Regions from separate parts of the Homo sapiens genome. Here region 1 is linked to region 2. The links are contacts of gene promoters, found by promoter capture Hi-C in human tissues and cell types (Jung and others, 2019). All regions are on one chromosome and are shown on one strand. Each heading gives the region's core, a stretch centred on a gene start or on the middle of the fragment in contact. The rest is flanking DNA. Distances are from core to core; before and after follow the strand shown. Region 1 overlaps SUCLA2 (succinate-CoA ligase ADP-forming subunit beta). Region 2 holds the start of LRCH1 (leucine rich repeats and calponin homology domain containing 1).

The links. Contacts are between HindIII fragments. The study calls those that stand out against the background at their distance.
Region 1: a fragment that was not itself captured here is called in contact with the fragment with the promoter of LRCH1 in region 2 in 1 of the 25 tissues and cell types used here (dorsolateral prefrontal cortex).

Annotation. Positions count from the first base shown.
Region 1 is chr13:47,981,094-47,985,491 of GRCh38, forward strand. All of the region lies in intron 4 of SUCLA2 (succinate-CoA ligase ADP-forming subunit beta), which reads right to left. Among named protein-coding and RNA genes, the nearest start is that of SUCLA2, 18 kb to the right of the region's middle. The HindIII fragment of the contact is 4,759 bases long and covers 1-4,261 here.
Region 2 is chr13:46,551,782-46,555,952 of GRCh38, forward strand. LRCH1 (leucine rich repeats and calponin homology domain containing 1) reads left to right here and starts at 1,389. Exons shown (of 20, transcript NM_001164211.2): 1 at 1,389-1,922. The coding sequence starts at 1,616. RefSeq lists silencers at 1,333-1,522, 1,583-1,642 and enhancers at 1,846-2,546, 2,203-2,522. The HindIII fragment of the contact is 6,535 bases long and covers 1-4,087 here.

The DNA of each region.
Region 1 (4,398 bases), core at 632-3,131, 1.4 Mb after region 2:
CAAATGGAACTCTATCAAACTTAAAAACTTCACAGCAAAGGAAATAATCAACAAAGTAAAAAGGCAATCTACAAAATGAGAGAAAATATTTGCAATCCATATATCTAGTTAAAAGCTGAAATTCGGAATATGTAAGATCTTCTACAACTCAATAACCAAAAAAGTAAAAAATAAAAAACCCAAACAAAAAAATTTAAAGATGGGCAAAGGACTTAAATAGACATTTCTCCAAAGCAGATCTGCAAATGGCCTGTAAGCATATGAAAAGATACTCAGTATCACTAATAACGGGGGAAATGCAAATAAAAACCACAGTGAAATATAATCTCACACCCTTTAGGATGGCCACTACCAAAAAAACAGAAAATGAATATTGGCGAGGATGCAGAAAAACTGGAAGCTTTGTCTGCTGTTAGTTGGAATATAAAATGGTACGGCTCAGCTAGGTGCAGTGGGCTCATGCCTGTATTCCCAGCACTTTGGGAGGCCAAAGCAGGCAGAACACCTGAAGTCAGGAGTTCAAGACCAGCTGGCCAACATAGTGAAACCCTGTCTCTACTAAAAATACAAAAACTAGCCGGGCATGGTGGTGCACGCCTGTAGTCCCAGCTACTCAGAAGGCTGAGGCAGAAGAATCACTTGAACCCAGGAGGCGGAGGTTGTGAGCCGAGATCGCACCACTGCACTCCAGCCTGGGCAACAGAACGAGACTCCGTCTCAAAAAAATACAAAAATAAAAAAATTAGCAGGGTGTGGTGGTGGGTGCCTGTAATTCCAGCTACTCAGGAGGCTGAGGGAGAAGAATCACTTGATCCCGGGAGACTGGGGTTGCAGTGAGCCGAGACTGCACTACTGCACTCCAGCCTGGGAGACATAGCGAGACTCTGTCTCAAAAAAATAATTAATTAAATAAAACGGTACAGCTGCTATGGAAAACATTATAGAAGCTTCTCAAAAAAATTAAAAATAGAATTACCATATGATCCAGTAATCCCACTTCTAGGTATACATCCAAAAGAAATGAAAACAGGATCTCAAAGAAATATTTGAACATCTATGTTCACTGTAGCATTACTGACAATAGCCAAGAGATGAAAGCAATCTGAATGTCCATCAAAAGATGAATGGATAAAGAAAATGCAGTATATACATAAAATGGAATAGTACTCAGCCATAAATAAGGAAACTTTGTCATATGCTACATCATGAATAAACCTTGAGGACATTATGCTGAGATAAACCAGTTACAAAAAGACAGCTACTTCAGGTATCTAAAATACTCAAACTTTTAGAAACACAAAGAATGGAGATTACCAGGAGCTGGAGGGAAGTGGGAGAGGGAAAAGGGAGCTGTTCAATGAATAGTTTTAATTTTGTAAGACAAAAAAAGTTCTAGAAAAATTAAAGAAAAAAAAAGATTTGGATATCTGTTCTGGAGATGTTGCACAAAATGTGCACAAATTGTTTTACTCTGTTCCTTTTACCAAAAGAGAAATTAACATTCTCCTTCCTTCCTCTCTCCCTCCTTCCTTCCTTCCTTCTTTCTTTCTGAGAATGCACTATTATACTGCATACTCAAAATGGGTAAGGTAAATTTTTTGTTATATTTTTGACAATCTAAAAAAAAAAAATCTCTGAACACCAAAAGCTTGGGGAGCTTTGGGTTGGCAATATTCTGCATACTGCCACACATTAAGATGCTAGCAAGACAAAACATTCCTGAGAACAGTGGAAACTTAGTGTTTGGGAACCCTCCCAGACCTTGTTGGCTGGTTATGATTTTTATATCCTTTGGCTATAATAAAACTGTAATACTAAGTTTAACATTTTCCTGAGCTCTGTGAGTCGTTCTAAGGAATTAACCCTCAAATTTGTAGCTAGCTAGTCAGAAATGAGGGTAACCTGGGGACCACCAAAATTGAGACTGGTGTCTAAAGTAAGGGCAATCAAGTGCAGGACTATGCTCTTAGCCTCTGAAGTTTAGCTAAACCATGGGCACTTAGTATTAGAACTCCTTTCAATATAAAAAAAAAACTTTTTTAAATAAAAGAATTCAGAGCCTTCTGAGGCTAAAGAAGAGAACATTAGCAAGTCTAAGTAAAGAGAAATGTTTGAAATGATGGTTTAATTTTCAGTTCCTCTATAAATTTCAAATGAAAGGGTATTCTTCGTTTTCTCTCTAGCAAGGCAGTGCATAATTATTAGCTTTTACAAAGATCTAAAGAGCAGGAAAAAATTCTGATTGAAGAAGAGGCGGTTCAGTTTTAGTCATGCCACTGAAATAGAATATAGACAAATCTACAGATAACCATAAAATATAATTTTATTCAACAGGAGAGGTACAGACCAACAAATCTTTAAAATATTCTAACATTTTAGTTTAGTTTTCTTTTCCCTTTTTTTTTTTTTTTTTTGAGACGGAGTCTCGCTCTGTCGCCCAGGCTGGAGTGCAGTGGTGCGATATGGGCTCACTGCAAGCTCCGCCTCCCGGGTTCACGCCATTCTCCTGCCTCAGCCTCCGGAGTAGCTGGGACTACAGGCGCCTGCCGCCACGCCTGGCTAATTTTTTGTACTTTTAGTAGAGACAGGGTTTCACCGTGTTAGCCAGGATGGTCTCGATCTCCTGACCTTGTGATCCACCCGCCTCGGCCTCTCAAAGTGCTGGGATTACAGGTGTGAGCCACCGCACCCAGCCTCTTTTCATTTTAGTTTTACTCTCTTTTTATACCAACTGGTAAAAGAAATGAAAAGCCACAGAGAAGGCAACACGAGGAGAAAAGTTAATATTAAATTCTCACTAAAGTAAAAATTAAGTCAACAATTGGTTATAAGTTAGAAAAAAAAGGAAACAATAATACATAGAAGAAAGTGGAGTCTCTATTTGTCTTAATTCCACAACCAATTAGAAAGAAACCAACTTGCATGGGTAAACGTTAAACAATGACTATAGTTCCACATTTAGTCAACACTGTAGAATGAATAGCTATTTCATGTTCAAACGACTTGGCTTCACTTTTAAATCTTAGTAATAAACTTTCAAAACAATTTCATTTCAAGCAAGTAGCTGAAATTTCAAATATATTAATAATTCTACTTTTCACTTTTTTTTTTTTTTATTTTGACACAGTCTCACTCTGTCACCCAGGCTGGAGTGCAGTGGTGCAATCTCGGCTCACTGCAAGCTCCGTCTCCTGAGTTCATGCCATTCTCCTGCCTCAGCCTCCCGAGTAGCTGGGACTACAGGCACCCCCCACCACGCCCAGCTAATTTTTTGTTTTTTTTGTATTTTTAGTAGAGACAGTGTTTCACTGTGTTAGCCAGGATGGTCTCGATCTCCTGACCTCATGATCCGCCCGCCTCAGCCTCCCAAAGTGTCGGGATTACAGGTGTCAGCCACCACGCCCAGCCCTACTTTTCACTTTCTTAACCTAAGTTCTTCTTCTCTTGTTGGTATTTTTTTAAATTTGCCTTAAAATAGGCTTAAATGTAAAAGGCTTAAATGAGAAAGCAGCCACATGATATAATAAAGATCTGTAGCAGGGCATCGTGGAATGCACCTGTAATCCCAGCTACTTGGAAGGCTGAGGCAGGGGAATCACTTGAACTTGGGAGGCGGAGGTTGCAGTGAGCAGAGATGGCACCACTGCACTCCAGCCTGGGCGACAGAGCAAGACTCTCAAAAAAATTAAAAATAAAAATAAAAAATAAAGATGTGTATTTAAAAAAAATCACACGAAGTAAAATTAGAATTCTTAAGCACATTTTATAACTATTTCAGGTAAAGTCAAAAATTGACACAGGAAAATGTCCCACTCATTTGCAGAAGACTGCAGTTGTTTTACCAGAAAAATAAAAGTAGTAAATGTGATTTATTAAATAGACTTGACTCAGACCAAAAGTACCCAACAGGCACTAGGCAAATGTTAAGAAATCTAATTTAACAAAGGTATCACACAGAGAGTAGGTACTTGAATTCACTTTCTGGCAAGCCAACCCCATAGAAGTTACCTCCCGGAATCAGGATGTGAAAGGTACTAAAGACCAGTAGAACCTATGATACATCTCCTAAAAACAAGTCAGTAATAGAAGTAATTGTTTTCTGTTTTGTTTTAGTTTTGCTTTGCTTATTCTTTTTTTTTCTCTTCAACTTTTAAGTTGAGGTGTACATGTCCAGGATGTGTAGGTTTGTTACATAGGTAAACATGTGCCATGGTGGTGTGCTGTACAGATCATCCCATCACCCAGGTATTAAGCCCAACATTCACTAGCTATTCTTTCTGATGCTCTCCCTCCCTCCACCCCCACCCCGACAGGCCCCAGTGTGTGTTGATCCCCACCTTGTGTCCATGTGTTCTCATCATTCAGTTCCCACTTTTAAGTGAAAACACACGGTGTTTG
Region 2 (4,171 bases), core at 139-2,638:
TGCCGAGTCCATGAAGTCACCAGTTCCAGCCTGTTGTCTAGGCCATCAAACTTATGTATTACCACTTAAAAAACCAGCTCCCCTACTCCAAGGGTTGCATTACTTTCGTGCTTGACACCCCGACAACCCCGCACCCACCCCCCGACTCATTTTCCCCAAGCCAAGTCGCTCATAGGGGACAATCAAGCCTTAAGAATAGAGCAAAAATAAAGGCCCTGGAAAGTTGGACATGAAGCTTTAACTTCAGGAAAGGAATGGTATTCTATTAATCGTCCAGCTGGTCTGCCCTTAGGGTGTCAGATGTTCTCTGTCGCCCCTGGTGTGCCAGCATTGGCCTGGGTGCCACTGGGTGGCTGATGGCAGAATGTGAATTCACTTGCAAGCGGACATGTTCGTTTCCATGCCCCAAAGCGGGAAGAAGAAGGGCACAAGGAGACTTCGATGGTTCTTTCAGCTCAGACTCGAGCTGTGACTGATTTGCTGTTTGGGGTCACTGGCTTTCTAGCCTCTCCTGGCACCACCCAATTTCGGGGAGCAGCCAGCTCATCTTTCTCCTACGACAATGTCTTCTGTCCCCCATAAACACTGCCCTCATTTTGAGTTTTTCTTTCCTATGTCTGTAGCTTTCTTCTGCCGCTCAGCAAACACTCTGTCCCACTCGTATTCGTCCCTTGGCGCTGGCGTCTGGCCCAGGGGTACACTGTGAAGGAGGGCAACCCTAGATTCTGAGGGCCCTAGCTCGAATCTAGCGCCCCTCTAACTGCAGGGGTGACCTTAGATACATTTATTAACTTCCTCTGTAGACTCAGGGGAACAACTTTGGCACTCCTGGGGTCCCTGGATTAATGAGGTAACTTACGTAGACTCCCTAAACAAGCGTCTGGTTCATTGTAAGCGCCCAAATGCCAGGGGGCATCTGCAGGGATGACCCCATAGTGAATGAAAACTGCCTCTTGGGGATCTCTGGGTTAAACGGCCAGAATAAATCGCAGAATTGAGAGAACCCTCTCCTGCCCCAAACCTCACTGTACTGTAAATCCCATTCATTGCCTCCCGCCGTTTTATCCGTGTTCTCAGACCACCCCCCTATCCCCGCAACCTCCAGTCCCCTAAAGCCTCCTGGGCGGCAAAAGGACGCCCAGAGAGAGGTTCGGCGCCTCAGTTGCCCCGGAGCAGACGTCCAGCCCCGCCGTGTACCCGATTGCGGGGCGGATCGCGGCAAGGCGGCGGCGGCCGGCAGAATAGGCGCGGAGGAAGGCTCAGGCGGGGCAGACTGCGTGGGGGAAGGAGGAGGAGAGAGCAGACGGCGGAGGAGGGCAGAGCAGCCGGGGGGAGGGCGCAGGGGCGGGAGGAGACACATGCGCGCTGCCGCCGCCGCCGCCGCCGCCGCAGTCCTTAGCTTCCCGGGGACAGGAAACCTTCAAGACCGAGCTGCCACGGCCGCCTCCCCGCCCGCCCCCCATTCTACGCGCCTGCCCACACCCTCCTCCCCTCCTTCCAGCGCCTTTCGGTGGAGCACTGCGGCACTCAGCCCGAGCTGCCGTTTTCCCCTCGCGGGGAACGCTGTGACCCCCCCGCAGGAGCGGCGGGGCGGGGTGGGGGGGCCCGGGAGAAGATGGCGACGCCGGGAAGCGAACCCCAACCTTTCGTCCCGGCCCTTTCGGTAGCTACTCTGCACCCACTTCATCATCCCCACCACCACCACCACCACCATCAGCACCACGGAGGAACCGGCGCCCCCGGCGGGGCGGGTGGTGGCGGCGGTGGCAGCGGGGGCTTCAACCTGCCCTTGAACCGGGGTCTGGAGCGCGCGCTTGAGGAGGCGGCCAACTCCGGGGGGCTGAACCTGAGCGCCAGGAAATTGAAGGAATTTCCCCGTACCGCAGCCCCCGGGCACGACCTCTCGGACACGGTGCAGGCAGGTGAGTGAGGGCCGAGGGGCGGGCAGGGGTGTGGGTGCTGTCTGGGTGTCTGTCGTGCGTTCCCTAACGCGGTGGACAGTCGGAGATCTTGTCTTGCTGGGGGAGGGAGGGTCCATCGGCCCGTTGTCTCCCGAAGAAGGGACTCGCGTGGGCGCGGAAGAAGCGGGCCCTGGAGAGGGCACGGGGGCCCTGCCTGGTCCGGCGATGCAGTGCCAGGAGGGCAGGGGTGCGCCGGGCCTCTGCGCCTGAGAGCGAGGGGTCTCCGGCTCTCCACCCTGTGGCTGCCGCGCCAGGGAAGTAACCGCGGGGCTGGGACTTGCAGGCGCGCCGCGTGCGCGCAGTGTAAGTGGGAGGTTTCAGGCGGCTGTGTCGGCTTCCTGGGCCCCGCGCAGGGCTGGGAACTCCAGCGCGGACAGCGGCGTCGGCGCCTCCAACCAGTTCAAGCCGTCTTTGCATCGAGGCGTAGCCCATCCTGGTGGGGAAACCCAGACAAAGGTGGCACGCCCTCGGCCGAGCCAGGGGCATCGGCGCAGTGCCGCGAGCCCCCTCGGCGACATCGCCGAGCGATCGGGCAACTCGGTGCCGCCTGTGAGGTGCCCAAGTTTCCTCTCCCTGCGCTTGTGCGGGAAAAGAGCCGCCGGGCTTGTAGTGAATCCCAGTCGGCTGCCGCTTCGGAAGCGATCGGCCCTCTTCCTTCCGTGCCTTTTGCTCACCGCCCACACAGTTTGGGTCCTACCACCGAGGCTACCTGGTTCTCAGTTACCCAACCGTTGCGGGGGCCCCAGGAAAGGACGGCGTGGCATATTAAAGGCAAAGTAATTAACGTGAGCCTGTTTTCCTGTGTGAGCCCGGCAAGTTGTAACTCGCGCCAATAAGCAGCATAACTTTTTCAAGTTACGTCATGTGTTACATACTTCTAAAACGTCTGCTTTCTCTTTGGTAGTTGGAGTTCCAGGAGCGGGATCTATAAACAGGAAGGAGGGTGGTGGAATAGGATTGGGGCCTTAGGGTCTATACAGAACTGACTTGGTTTCCGGCCATCCGGTTCCGCTCCCTGGGGGAGGGTTTGTGTCATAGCAAGCGCCCAACATTTCCCAGGGCAGTGGGTGCTCCGTTTTGGAGCCGCTGCCCAGACCTCTTGGCTGTCATCGCCTCATGGCCCAGGGTCAGACCCCCTGGGTCTTGGATGGGTTGACTCTCATCACAGGAGCACCCAGTTTAATCTTGTAGTGGGCAAGGGAGCAGGCAGTGGGTTTTTGGAGGCTAGGTTTCCAGTGTCTTTTCCCCCTTTTAATTCAATAAACATTTATCTAGAGCCTTAATGAATATTTAGATACAGTTCTGAGTTCACTGGAGGCAAAGATGGCTCTCCAGGGTCATTAAACTTTGTAATTTGGATTTAGGGATAGTCAGGAATCGGCAAAAAAGAGGGAATTTCCAAAGTTGAGCTGTCAACAGCTGGGGAGTGTCTTTCAATAAGACCTCTTAGTTACATCTTCTCAAGTGGAACTTATTCCAAGAATTGCCTGAATCACTGACTTAAAAAACTACATTAAATTTTACTTCCCTTCTGCTATAGAGTGTACCGTGAGCTAGCTATGCTATGGTTGGCTATATCTGCAGAAAATAGAGCTGGCATGACTAATAATAATAGGTTTGTGTAGTTCAGTAAGGGGGCTTCATAGTTGTTCTACTTCAGTTATGCTAAGGATTATTTACAAAGTTAGGTGAACTTGATGTGTCTGCTGTGTTGGCATTTCTTTGAGAAGACCAGTGCTTTTAGGGATCACATCTTTTAGCTAAGACCTCGCCATGTGAAGTGGATGCTGAAAGTGTTCTTGTTGGCTTGTTTATGGCAAGCTTAAGTTGTGAGTTTTGCAGGTTTTTATTTATGAGCTCACTTGCACATGTTTTATGCTCAGGAAAATCTAACTGGTTAAAATTCAGAGGCTTTATGTTAATTCCTCATCCAAAAATACAGTATTATTTGGGGGAAGAGGAGTGGAGGGATATTCATGTTTGTAGAAACTTAAGTCAACCCCATCAGAAAAGTATTCATTGCAGCTAGTTATTTTACATGAAATTAGAATACCCAAATGTATTAAATATTTGCTTCTGCAAAACGTCTTTGCCTCAGGTCAAAAGCTAGGTGTAAACCACATGTACTCTTTGTTCTAAAGATAAATTTAATTGAGCACAGTTTCTTATTTGAGAGACCAGAAAGCAAAATAAAGAGTTAAAGTTACCTC